3 separate regions of the Homo sapiens genome follow, and regions 2 and 3 are each linked to region 1. The links are contacts of gene promoters, found by promoter capture Hi-C in blood cells and fetal thymus (Javierre and others, 2016). All regions are on one chromosome and are shown on one strand. Each heading gives the region's core, a stretch centred on a gene start or on the middle of the fragment in contact. The rest is flanking DNA. Distances are from core to core; before and after follow the strand shown. Region 1 holds the start of SPRYD4 (SPRY domain containing 4). Region 2 overlaps CNPY2 (canopy FGF signaling regulator 2). Region 3 overlaps BAZ2A (bromodomain adjacent to zinc finger domain 2A).

Region 1 (3,675 bases), core at 740-3,239:
GATCACATGAGGCCAGGAGTTCGAGACCAGCCTGGCCAATATGGCAAAACCCCATCTCTACTAAAAATATAAAAATGAGACGGGCATGGTGGCACACACCTGTAATCCTAGCTACTCAGGAGGCTGAGGCACGAGAGTCGCTTGAACCCAAAAGGCAGAGTTTGCAGTGAGCCAAGATCATGCCACTGCACTCCAGCCTGGGTGACAGAGTGAGACTCTGTCTCAAAAATAAATAAATAGTTTCTAGCACTCATCCCCTAGATATCCCCCAAGTGTCTCTCTTCCCCTTTGGTCAAGGTTATAACTGGGATAATGATTATGACAGACTGGCTGGGTGTCAGAGGTACAGATTTAAGGTAGATGGACTCAGGGTAAGGATAGCTACAGCTGTGTGGGGCTGAAGGTCTGTGGCACTGAGCTACTGGGGAAGGAGGGCTCTGTTTTCATTTTGACACACTGAGTTAATAAAGCACTTACTGAGGGAGCCAGAGCCCAAACTCTAAATGTGCTGTAGAAAAAGGGCCAAGTCATTGACTGCACCACTCCTTCAGCCAGAGGTAGAAAGGATTTACTCTTCAGCCATCTGGTAGAGCCCCAAGAACAAGTTACATGTGGACAAAGGGAGGGAGAGGTATCATGGTGATTAATAAATTCAAACAAAGCTGAATGATAAGACCCCAGGATGGAATACAGTCTGAGAAAGGCCTGGGCAAAGGGAGGCAGAGGGACTGAAGGAAGCAGGTCAAGGAAGATACACCCATGGTAGCCTAGGAAATTGGCAGTAGTTGGTGGGTGGGGAAAAGGAGGGTTTGGCTGTATGCCTAGCTTTCACAAGGTAGGGGATGAGGAAGATGATCATGATATTGCACAGAGGACCCAACACTGAATTGTGGGAGCTAGAGGTTGCTTGAGGCAAAGTAAAAAGGCTTCGGACACTTTCAAAAGGAGGCTGGCCAAAGGCGTGATTAGGGACTCCAGTAATGGACATACTAGAGGCCCTCGGGCACCTCAAGCCCTGAATGGGTCAGCAGCTCCCCATCCCAGAGAGCAAAGGCAGGCACCACTGGACCCCGGAAATCTGTCTGTAGCGTGTGAACCACAGAGACCTGGCTCACATCCACCAGGCTCAGCTTCTGGGCCTCATACTCCAGCAACAGCCCCACCTTCTCTGGCTGCCCAATACCCTCAACTGGGGCTTTCTCGTTGGCCAACATGGTGTACCACTTGCGCTGGGCATAGGTGAACACCCAGGAACGATCATCAACACCAATGCAGCTATCCCGGGACATGTCCACATCTGCCACTCCTATCCGGAACTGCTGGGAGCGCTTCACTGTCACTTCCCAGTAGTGTCTGCCACTGGTGACCGCTGTGTCTGCCAGCACCACTGCCCACTCCCGGAAGCGCTCCACATTCAAGGCCACCTTGGTGGGCTCCAATCCCACCAAGCCATATTTGACACCCGTATCATCTCTGAAGAGTGCCAGGCTGCTGTGGGCGGTTTTTTCTTCCAGTTTGAAACTGACGCCTGCGGGCAGAGCAAAAAGACGGGATAATAACAGGGGCTAGAACCCTAGGGCTGGTGATATATTCAGATATGAGGCAGGCAGCCATGATACACGAGCAACTAGGGAAGAGTCAGAATGCCAAGCGGGCAAGAGAGTCGCGAGGTCGCTTTACTACGGATAGCTCACGGAGCTGAAAAACTCGGATTGAGTAAGTCCCGGAATTTAAAGAAACCAAATGGTATCACAGGTTTGGAATCTTAAGACCAAGGCAGGTGGGGAAGGAAAAGACCCGAGAGGGTTGGAGTTGCTTCTCGGAGTGGGGTCTGGGAATAATAGACGGCAGCCATTCTGGAGGTAAAAGAGTAAAAAGAGATAATCCTACCTCTCTGGGCCTCTGTGGAGGCAACTCCCAATCGTTTGGCTCCCCAGCGGCACAAGCGCAAAGAACGTGCAAAAAGCAGCGCCATCTTGCGCCTTGGATGAACCGGGCACGCCTCCCGCTTACAGACACAGCCATCTGCCCGCCCGCTCCCCTAGCACGTGGTGCGCGAGGGGCGGCCGCGCAGTGTTATGACGTAGGCGACGCCCGGGGGCGGGCGGCCGCCAAGGTAGTGGTTTCTGTTCTGTTTCTGCCCGCGGTTAATGCTGCTTATTCAGTTTTTCTGCGTAGACGAACGCTGCTCACATTTGAACTACGTAAAACTTTTAGAGATATAGTGTAGCCAGATGCTTAGAAGTATAGATTTTAAAATTAGACAGTACTGTAATTAGCTTTGATCCCGGCTTCACTGTGTGAGTTTGGGCAACTCACTCCACTTTTCTGAGCCTTAGTGTTCTAATTTATAAAATAGAAATTATATACAGACCTTAGTAATAATTAAGTGAGAATAATCTAGGCCGGGCGCGGTGGCTCACGCCTGCAATCTCAGCACTTTGGGAGGCCGAGGCAGGCGGATCACGAGGTCAGGAGATCAAGACCATCCTGGCCAATATGGTGAAACCCCGCCTCTACCAAAAGTACAAAAATTAGCCGGGCGTGGTGGCGCGCGCCTGTAATCCCAGCTACCCGGGAGGCTGAGGCAGGAGAATCGCTTGAACCAGGGAGTGGGAGGTTGCAGTGAGCCGAGATTCTGCCACTGCACTCCAGCCTGGTGACAGAGCAAGACTCCATCTCAAAAAATAATAATAATTAATCTAGATATATATTGGCAAATAGCAACCATTGGGTAATTCACAGTTGTTTATAATTAATAGTAAATACATAAATACTGTTAATGTTGGTTTTGTATGTTCAAGGCTAGGAACGGATGGTTTAACTCAGCATTCAGTTTTCTGAACTTAACCAAGAGTAGCAATATTTTGGTTCAGGGTATGAGGTAGGAGATTATGGACAGCCTATATTGAACATTTCGATCTGCATTCCATTTTATTTTATTTTTTGAGACAGGGTCTCATTCTGTCACCCAGGCTGCATGCAGCACAGTGGCGCAAACACAGCTCACTGCAACCTTCATCTCCGAGGCACAAGCGATCTTCCTGCTTCAGCCTCCCATGTAGCTGGGACCACATGTGCACGCACCATGCCCCGTTAACTTTTTTGTAGAAACGGGGGTTTCGCTTTGTTGACCAAGTTGTTCTCGAATTCTCGGGCTCAAGCCATCCTCCCACCTTTGCCTCCCAAAGTGCTGTGATTACAGGTGTTAGCCACTATGCCAGGCCTACATTTTTTTAATCAGTCCACTTCTCAAGGTTCTGCTGGCCAGTGCAATAGCAACATACATCCCACCTCCATCCTCCTACCCCTCAAAAAAGGATTTTAGATATATATTTTTAAAATGTATATTCTGAGACGGAGTGTCACTCTATCACCCAGGCTGGAGTGCAGTGGTTTGATCTTGGCTAACTGCAGCCTCTGCCTCTGGAGTTCAAGCAATTTTCCTGTCTCAGCCTCCTGAGTAGCTGGAATTACAGATGCCCACCAACCACACCTGGCTAATTTTTTTTTGAGACTGAGTCTCACTCTGTTGCCCAGGCTGGAGTGCAGTGGCGCAACCTTGGCTCACTGTAACCTCCGCCTCCCGGGTTCAAGCAATTCTCTTGTCTCAGCCTCCTGAGTAGCTGGGACTACAGGCGCATGCCACTACGTCCGGCTAATTTTTGTATTTTT
Region 2 (3,675 bases), core at 678-3,177, 160 kb after region 1:
TGCACATATCGCATGATGAGCTATGAACCACTGGAGCAGCCCACACTGGCTTGATGGATCACCCCCAGGAGGGGAAAATGGTGGCAATGCCTTTTATATATTATGTTTTTACTGAAATTAACTGAAAAAATATGAAACCAAAAGTACAAACTGTGTTGTCTTTTCATGCCTGGAATTGCCCTTACATTAAGCTTGAAGATAAGGAGTTATATAGACAGGAAAGATAATGGAGGAGAAAGAAGAGTTTTGGGATTGATACAGGATAAAGGTAGGAGAGGCCTGAACCTTTAATTCTTCTACCTTCTGAGATTCCACTCCACTCATAAACTAGATAAGCTTTCAGTCAGTGCCCACTCAATACCACGTCTTTAGAGTCTAATTGTGGAGAATAGAGGAACCTCCATGAGGAAGCAGGGGAACATAGTGTATGGTAGTGTAGAATTCTAGAAATCCCTTGTGTTCATGGCTGTTGAAACATAAAGTAAGACAGGGCTTGGTCTTGAAGGAAATAACGGATATGCATTATTCTTCCTTCCCTGCCCATCCAGATGGAGGGACCAGCAAGAACAGAGACAGGAAGGGGAAAATGGATGTGACCAACTCAGCTGAAAAGTAAGGGCTTTATCGGATAGGGACAGACGAGGTAAGGAAGGTTGTTTAATGAGAGGCCTTGCTTGCCAGCCTAAGCTTTTAAATTTGATGCCAGTGGCAACAATAAAGTGTATCTATCACTAGCCATTGTCAATCTGGACTATAAGTCTGTCCACAATTCTGTGTGTAGAGATTCCAGACTGGGGCATAGGGATGAAAACCTAAAGGATACCTTCTTTTGGGAAATTCTTTTTTTCTTTTTTTTTCTGAGATGGAGTCCCGCTCTGTCGCCTAGGCTGGAGTACAGTGGCGCGATCTCGGCTCACTACAAGCTCTGCCTCCCAGGTTCACGCCATTATCCTGACTCAGCCTCCCGAGTAGCTGGGACTACAGGCGCCCGCCACCACACCGGCTAATTTTTTTTTTTTTTTTTTTGTGAGACAGAGTCTCGCTCTATCGCCCAGGCTGGAGTACAGTGGCGCGATCTCGGCTTACTGCAAGCTTCGCCTCCCGGGTTCACACCATTCTCCTGCCTCAGCCTCCCAAGTAGCTGGGACTATAGGCACCCGCCACCACGCCCGGCTAATTTTTTGTATTTTTAGTAGAGACGGGGTTTCACCATGTTAGCCAGGATGGTCTCGATCTCCTGACTTCGTGATCCGCCCGCCTTGGCCTCCCAAACTGCTGGGATTACAGGCGTGAGCCACCGCGCCCGGCCTGCACTGGCTAATTTTTTTGTATTTTTAGTAGAGGCAGGGTTTCACCGTGTTAGCCAGGATGGTCTCGATCTCCTGACCTCATGATCCGCCCGCCTTGGCCTCCCCAAATGCTGGGATTACTGGTGTGAGCCACCGCACCTGGCAGAAAATTCTTAAGCACTCTGAGCTTGAGGTATGGTTGTCTCAGGGTTTCAAATGGAATATCTCCGGTCCCAAGAACACCTCAAGGAGAGAAGACCTGAATAAACATTTCAAAGGTTTTAAAAATTACATCATTTTAGAATCTAAAGGAACCTTAGAGGTCGTCTGGTTCACCTCTGCCCATTTTATTGATGAAGAAGCTGAGGCCCAGAGAAGCCATAGAACTTTATGAAGTTCTGTATTTAATGGCAAAACTGGGTCTATAAGCTAACTTTCCCAAGTGCTGACCTGATCTAATATAGCTATAGAGTACCTTCTATTTTAAGTCTTTTTTCTCTAATAATACCTTGCACTAAGCCTGGCGCATAGAATGCATATATTCCACAAAGCTTTCTTGTACCAAAAATCCCTGTGAAATCTGACAAATTAACTAGAGCACAGAGCAAGCACTCTGATATTTGTTGTCAACTAATATCAGCCTGGTGTTAATTCCATCTTCTCCCATCATCCATAAGAAATGCTGTGTTCGCTCTAGTTTTCCAAACCAACTATTATAAAGCTTATTTTTTCTTCTATGATGCATATAAGTAATAATTACATTTTTTCATGTCCCTGAAAGTATACCCAAGGTGCTGTCCATTTCGTGCTTCGTGCCTAAAAATGCCTTTCTTTTCCATCAGAAAGCTTATCAGAAGTATAAATGAGAGTACTCTTCAAGCCAAATGCGGTGGCTCGTGCCCATAATCCCAACACTTTGGGAGGCCAAGGTGGAAGGATCATGATCACTCGAGTCCAGGAGTTTGAGACCAGCCTAGGCAATATAGTGAGACCCCATTGCTACAAAAAATACAAAAATTAGCCGGCATAATGGTGTGCACCTGTGGTTCCAGCGACTCTGGAGGCCAAGGTGGCAAGATCTCTCGAACCCAGGAGGCTGAGGCTGCACTGAGCTGTGATTGCACTACTGCACTCTAGCCTAGGCAACAGAGTGAGACCCTGTCTCAAATACAATAAAGAGAGTTCTCTTCTGGAAACTTAAAACTGTTTTAATTTAGAAAACAAATTATTCATAGTTTTAAATAAATAAATTTAATGTTAATCAGTAACAAGTTACTTGTGATGCACCTTTCTGGTTTGTCAAAGTACAGCTGTTAAGAACTCTCCAGCTGGAGAGACTTTGTCATTGGTACACAAAGGATATGTCCTATATAGGAAAGGGTGGATGTTACCTTCTAGGCTTGATTAAGGATACACTTTGTGGGGTTTTTTTGTTTTTTGTTTTTTTTTTCCTGAGGGAGAGTCTCGCTCTGTCGCCCAGGCTGAAGTGCAGTGGTGCAATCTCGGCTTACTGCAACCTCCACCTCCTGGTTCAAGTGATTTTCCTGACTCAGCCTCCCAAGTAGCTGGGATTACAAGCATGTGCCATCATGCCCAGCTAATTTTTGAGTTTTTTGTAGAGACAGTGTTTCACCATGTTGGCCAGGCTGGTCTCAAACTCCTGGCTTCAAGTAACCCGCCTGCCTCAGCCTCCCAAAGTGTTGGGATTACAGGCGTGAGCCACCGTGCCCAGCAGGAAGATACACTTTGTAAACCTCTTATTTTTTTTATTATTATCATTATTATTATTACTATCTTAGCGAGACAGGGGTCTTGCTCTGTTGCCCAGGCTGGAGTGAAATGGCATGATCATAACTCATTGCAGCCTCTAACTCCTGGCTTCAAGCAATCCTCCTGCCTTGGCCTCCTGAGTTTCTAGGATTACAGGCAAGCACCACCATGCCTGGCTTTGCACATGTTTTAATTCATATCACAAGGAATGCATGAATTTATCTGAACCCTCTGGAGGTTCATTATAATAAATTATAGCCCAGTATTTGGTAGAGCATATGCTCTTAACCTTGTAAATCTGATCAAGCTTCAGATGCCTTCTAACTTAGTTTATCAGTAAAATGTTAGAACTTAACAAACATTTCCGAAGACAGTGTTAAATGAGGTACAGATATAACAGGAAAGTTTATTATGTGAAAATTTAGTCCTTTAGAAATACGTTTTAGGGCTGGGCCCAGTGGATCATGCCTGTAATCCCAGCACTTGGGGATGCCGAGGTGGACAGATCAATTGAGGCCAGGAGTTCGAGACCAAGCCTGGGCAACATGCCAAAAACCCATCTCTACCAAAAATACAAAAATTAGCCAGGTGTAGTGGCATGCGCCTATAATCCCAG
Region 3 (3,675 bases), core at 566-3,065, 140 kb before region 1:
GAAGGCTTTACTTGTTACCTAACTTAATATTAGGAAGAATCTTCACATTGTGGGAACTAGAATTGGATGTTTTCTGACCAGTGTTTCTTAAATCTTGCTTTCTGATTTTTTTCTCATTATCCTGCTCTGATTTTTCTACCCTTGTAAACAGAGCCAGTGAGTGGAGGACTATATGGTATTGATGACACGGAGCTGATGGGTGCAGAGGACAAGCTGCCTCTTGAGGACAGCCCTGTGATTTCTGCCCTTGATTGCCCTTCCCTCAATAATGCTACTGCCTTCAGTCTCCTGGCAGATGATAGTCAAACATCAACCTCTATCTTTGCCAGTCCCACCTCTCCACCTGTCCTAGGGGAGTCTGTCCTGCAAGGTAAGTGACGGTAGGTAGGACAAAGAAAGACCTTTACCTGAGAAAAGATGAGAGAATAAGTTTCATAGTTAGGGCCTTAAGAGTGGGAAATCTGGCTGGGCGCAGTGGCTCACGCCTGTAATCTCAGCACTTCGGGAGGCCGAGGCGGGTGGATCACCTGAGATCAGGAGTTTGAGACCACCTGGCCAACATGGTGAAACCCCGCCTCTACTAAAAATACAAAAATTAGCCAGGTGTGTTGGCACATGCCTGTAATCCCAGCTACCTGGGAGGCTGAGGCAGGAGAATCGCTTGGCCCCAGGAGGCAGAGGTTGCAGTGAGCCGAGATTGTGTCGTTGCACTCCAACCTGGGCAACAGAGCAAGACTCCATCTCAAAAAAAAAGTAGGAAAGCAAGAGCACCTTGCTGGGAGCTGAGGGGCTATGGGATAGTGTATGGTGGAACTAAAAGAGGTATAGGCTGCTATACTCCGACCTGTGCCCTCTGCTTTGAAGAACTTGTGAGACTTGGAATTTGTAGGGAGAAGGAGGCTAGAAGCTTTATTGGCACCAGGTAAAAGGTATTTCTTCACACAATGACATCTGTAGCAACTTTACCCTTTAATCCTCATGATTGGTTGGGAGAAAAAGCTACTTCTTTTTCCAACCCTAGGGAAGACCCCTTGAAGTAACCCTGTTTAGCTTGGTCCAGGGTTGACTGAGTAGATTCTCTTGTTTTATGTGATGCCTTTTTTTTTTTTAAAGCCTATCCTGTCCCTTTGGATTCTAGATAACAGCTTTGACCTGAATAATGGTAGTGACGCTGAACAGGAAGAAATGGAAACTCAATCTTCAGACTTCCCACCATCCCTGACCCAGCCAGCTCCTGATCAGTCATCCACTATTCAGCTACATCCAGCAACCTCACCAGCAGTCTCGCCAACAACCTCCCCAGCAGTCTCCCTAGTGGTTTCTCCAGCAGCCTCCCCAGAAATCTCTCCAGAAGTTTGTCCCGCAGCTTCTACAGTTGTCTCTCCAGCAGTCTTCTCAGTGGTCTCTCCAGCTTCCTCAGCAGTCCTCCCAGCAGTCTCCTTAGAAGTCCCGTTGACGGCTTCAGTGACATCCCCAAAAGCCTCTCCCGTAACTTCCCCAGCAGCTGCCTTTCCAACAGCCTCCCCAGCAAATAAGGATGTCAGCAGCTTTCTAGAAACCACTGCTGACGTGGAAGAGATCACTGGAGAAGGACTCACTGCTTCTGGTAGTGGTGAGTATCCAGATTCTATTCTATCCCTGTCTGGTTCCAAGAAACTTTTCTGTCCCATGTTGTAGTTAGCCTTTCCCTATTGGCCTATTGTTTAAATATTTTGCTTGAACTCTTAACTTGGGTATCCCTTCCTCCCAAGGTGATGTCATGAGGAGACGTATTGCTACCCCAGAAGAAGTTCGTCTTCCCCTCCAACATGGGTAAATGCTCTAGTTTGCTACATTTATTGACCTTGACAAGTTTAATGCACAACTCTAGAAAGAAGGGAATGCCTCTTTTCCTCTGAGGTGGGGGAGGAATGGGCCAGACAAGAGTAGATTACAGGACAGTTATCTGCAGTGATAATGTTTCTTGGCATGAGATTCCTAGGTTTTCCTTCTTCTCTCAAGGTCTGTCTTCCATCACCTATTCTTTTTTCATCTTGTAGTGACTCAATTTTGCCCAAGGAGCTCCAGCTATTATCTTTTCCAAACCCTAGGGCTCACATCCAAACCAGCTGGCTTGTCCTATTTCTGTGGACAAGGGATAGTAATGAATGAGGAGTGACTTAGTACTAATGAATTGAGGTGGTTTTGTTGTTTTAATGCTCTTAGGAGAGGTAAGGGCAGGAACAGTACATGACCAAAATGAACAAACTAGCTGACACCAGGGCCTTGTGGAAATAACTGCCTTCCTGGATCTTCCCCACCCCTGCCCCTCAAGGCTACTTGTGGTCACCAAGTCTGAGTACTGCTTAAAATTTTGAGAGAAAGATTAGAGTTAGTCTTAGAACTAACTCTGACTAACTTTGTGTTCTGCTCAGAACACAGAGTTCCTAACTAAACCCTGGCATATTGAGTCTTTTCATGGAATCAGCAGCAAATTTATTTTTCTGCTTGCCTCCCTGCCCTTTGTCTTCTGTCTTTATTCCCCTTAGGTCTTTATCCTCTTTACTGGAAATCCAGTAACTGCCCTGAATGGCTCAGGGAGGGGTTTCTGGCAGCTTATCTCACTGATTTTGTAAAGGAGGGATGGAGATCTCTCTGAGCTTGTGCAGTTTGGTGTAGTGCTTTTCTCCTAAGGGCCTTGATGTATTTGCTGGAGCTCAAGTCAGCCTTCTAGCCAAGCTTATCTCTCTTGGTGCTTTTGCATCTGCATGCAGTTCTAGAGATACAAATGTGGGGAGGGCCATCTGCTCAGAGGGCTTCGCGCTTAGGTGGCATGGGAGTGGGTAGGGGTGTGACCTGGCGGCAGGGCCCATGTGCTTCTCTGGCAGGTGGCGGAGAGAGGTGCGCATCAAGAAGGGCAGCCACCGATGGCAGGGGGAGACCTGGTATTATGGCCCCTGTGGGAAGAGGATGAAGCAATTTCCAGAAGTGATCAAGGTAATGTAGCTTTTTTTAAAGGACTGCTTTCTTGGGCTCAGTGGACTCCTTTCCACTGCCCAAGACTCCGTTCTTGGGCTCAGTGACAACAGGCTGGCATTGTCTGCTCTGGGCCTGTTCTGCTTATGCCTTTGCTGGCCAAAGACATGGTAGGATCCAACTTTATTAATGTTACTTTACTTCTTCCTCTTAGTACCTGAGCCGCAACGTGGTACACAGTGTCCGCCGAGAGCACTTCAGCTTCAGTCCCCGTATGCCTGTTGGAGATTTCTTTGAAGAAAGAGACACGCCAGAGGTGCAGACCCAAGGGTTAAATATGCTTTTGTCCCTGAGGAAGAGTTGGTGGACAAGCTGCAGCTTCCTCTCGTGGGGTTTGAAGGTTCTGGGGCATTGAATGGTTCCGAGGGCCTCGTGGCCTGCACTGATTCCTTACTACTGTAACAGTCTCCCTTGCTACCTTAGGGCTTGCAGTGGGTGCAGCTCTCAGCAGAGGAGATCCCGTCGAGGATTCAGGCAATTACTGGCAAACGGGGTCGACCTCGAAACACTGAGAAGGCTAAGACTAAGGAAGTCCCCAAGGTGAAACGGGGTCGAGGTCGGCCACCTAAGGTCAAAATCACTGAGCTATTGAACAAGACAGACAACCGCCCCCTAAAGAAACTGGAGGCCCAAGGTACAGTGGTATTTCTTACTTTGGGA

What was found. The method cuts DNA at HindIII sites, captures the fragments that hold promoters and counts their contacts. A CHiCAGO score of 5 or more calls a contact.
Region 2: a fragment that was not itself captured here is called in contact with the fragment with the promoter of SPRYD4 in region 1 in 3 of 17 cell types (total B cells, non-activated CD4 T cells and M1 macrophages); the score reaches 6.7 in total B cells.
Region 3: a fragment that was not itself captured here is called in contact with the fragment with the promoter of SPRYD4 in region 1 in 1 of 17 cell types (M1 macrophages); the score reaches 5.1 in M1 macrophages.

The regions. Positions count from the first base shown.
Region 1 is chr12:56,466,892-56,470,566 of GRCh38, reverse strand. SPRYD4 (SPRY domain containing 4) reads right to left here and starts at 1,989. Exons shown (of 2, transcript NM_207344.4): 1 at 1,891-1,989; 2 at 1-1,528. The coding sequence starts at 1,975. The coding sequence ends at 990. RefSeq lists enhancers at 1,142-1,271, 1,692-1,741, 2,062-2,241, 2,252-2,321. The HindIII fragment of the contact is 12,495 bases long and covers 1-3,675 here.
Region 2 is chr12:56,306,903-56,310,577 of GRCh38, reverse strand. CNPY2 (canopy FGF signaling regulator 2) reads left to right here. Exons shown (of 6, transcript NM_014255.7): 6 at 1-734. The coding sequence ends at 26. Among named protein-coding and RNA genes, the nearest start is that of CNPY2-AS1, 2.7 kb to the left of the region's middle. The HindIII fragment of the contact is 170 bases long and covers 1,843-2,012 here.
Region 3 is chr12:56,609,710-56,613,384 of GRCh38, reverse strand. It overlaps BAZ2A (bromodomain adjacent to zinc finger domain 2A), which reads left to right. Exons shown (of 29, transcript NM_001300905.2): 5 at 152-370; 6 at 1,139-1,612; 7 at 1,752-1,812; 8 at 2,868-2,976; 9 at 3,170-3,271; 10 at 3,439-3,649. Among named protein-coding and RNA genes, the nearest start is that of BAZ2A, 19 kb to the left of the region's middle. The HindIII fragment of the contact is 1,811 bases long and covers 910-2,720 here.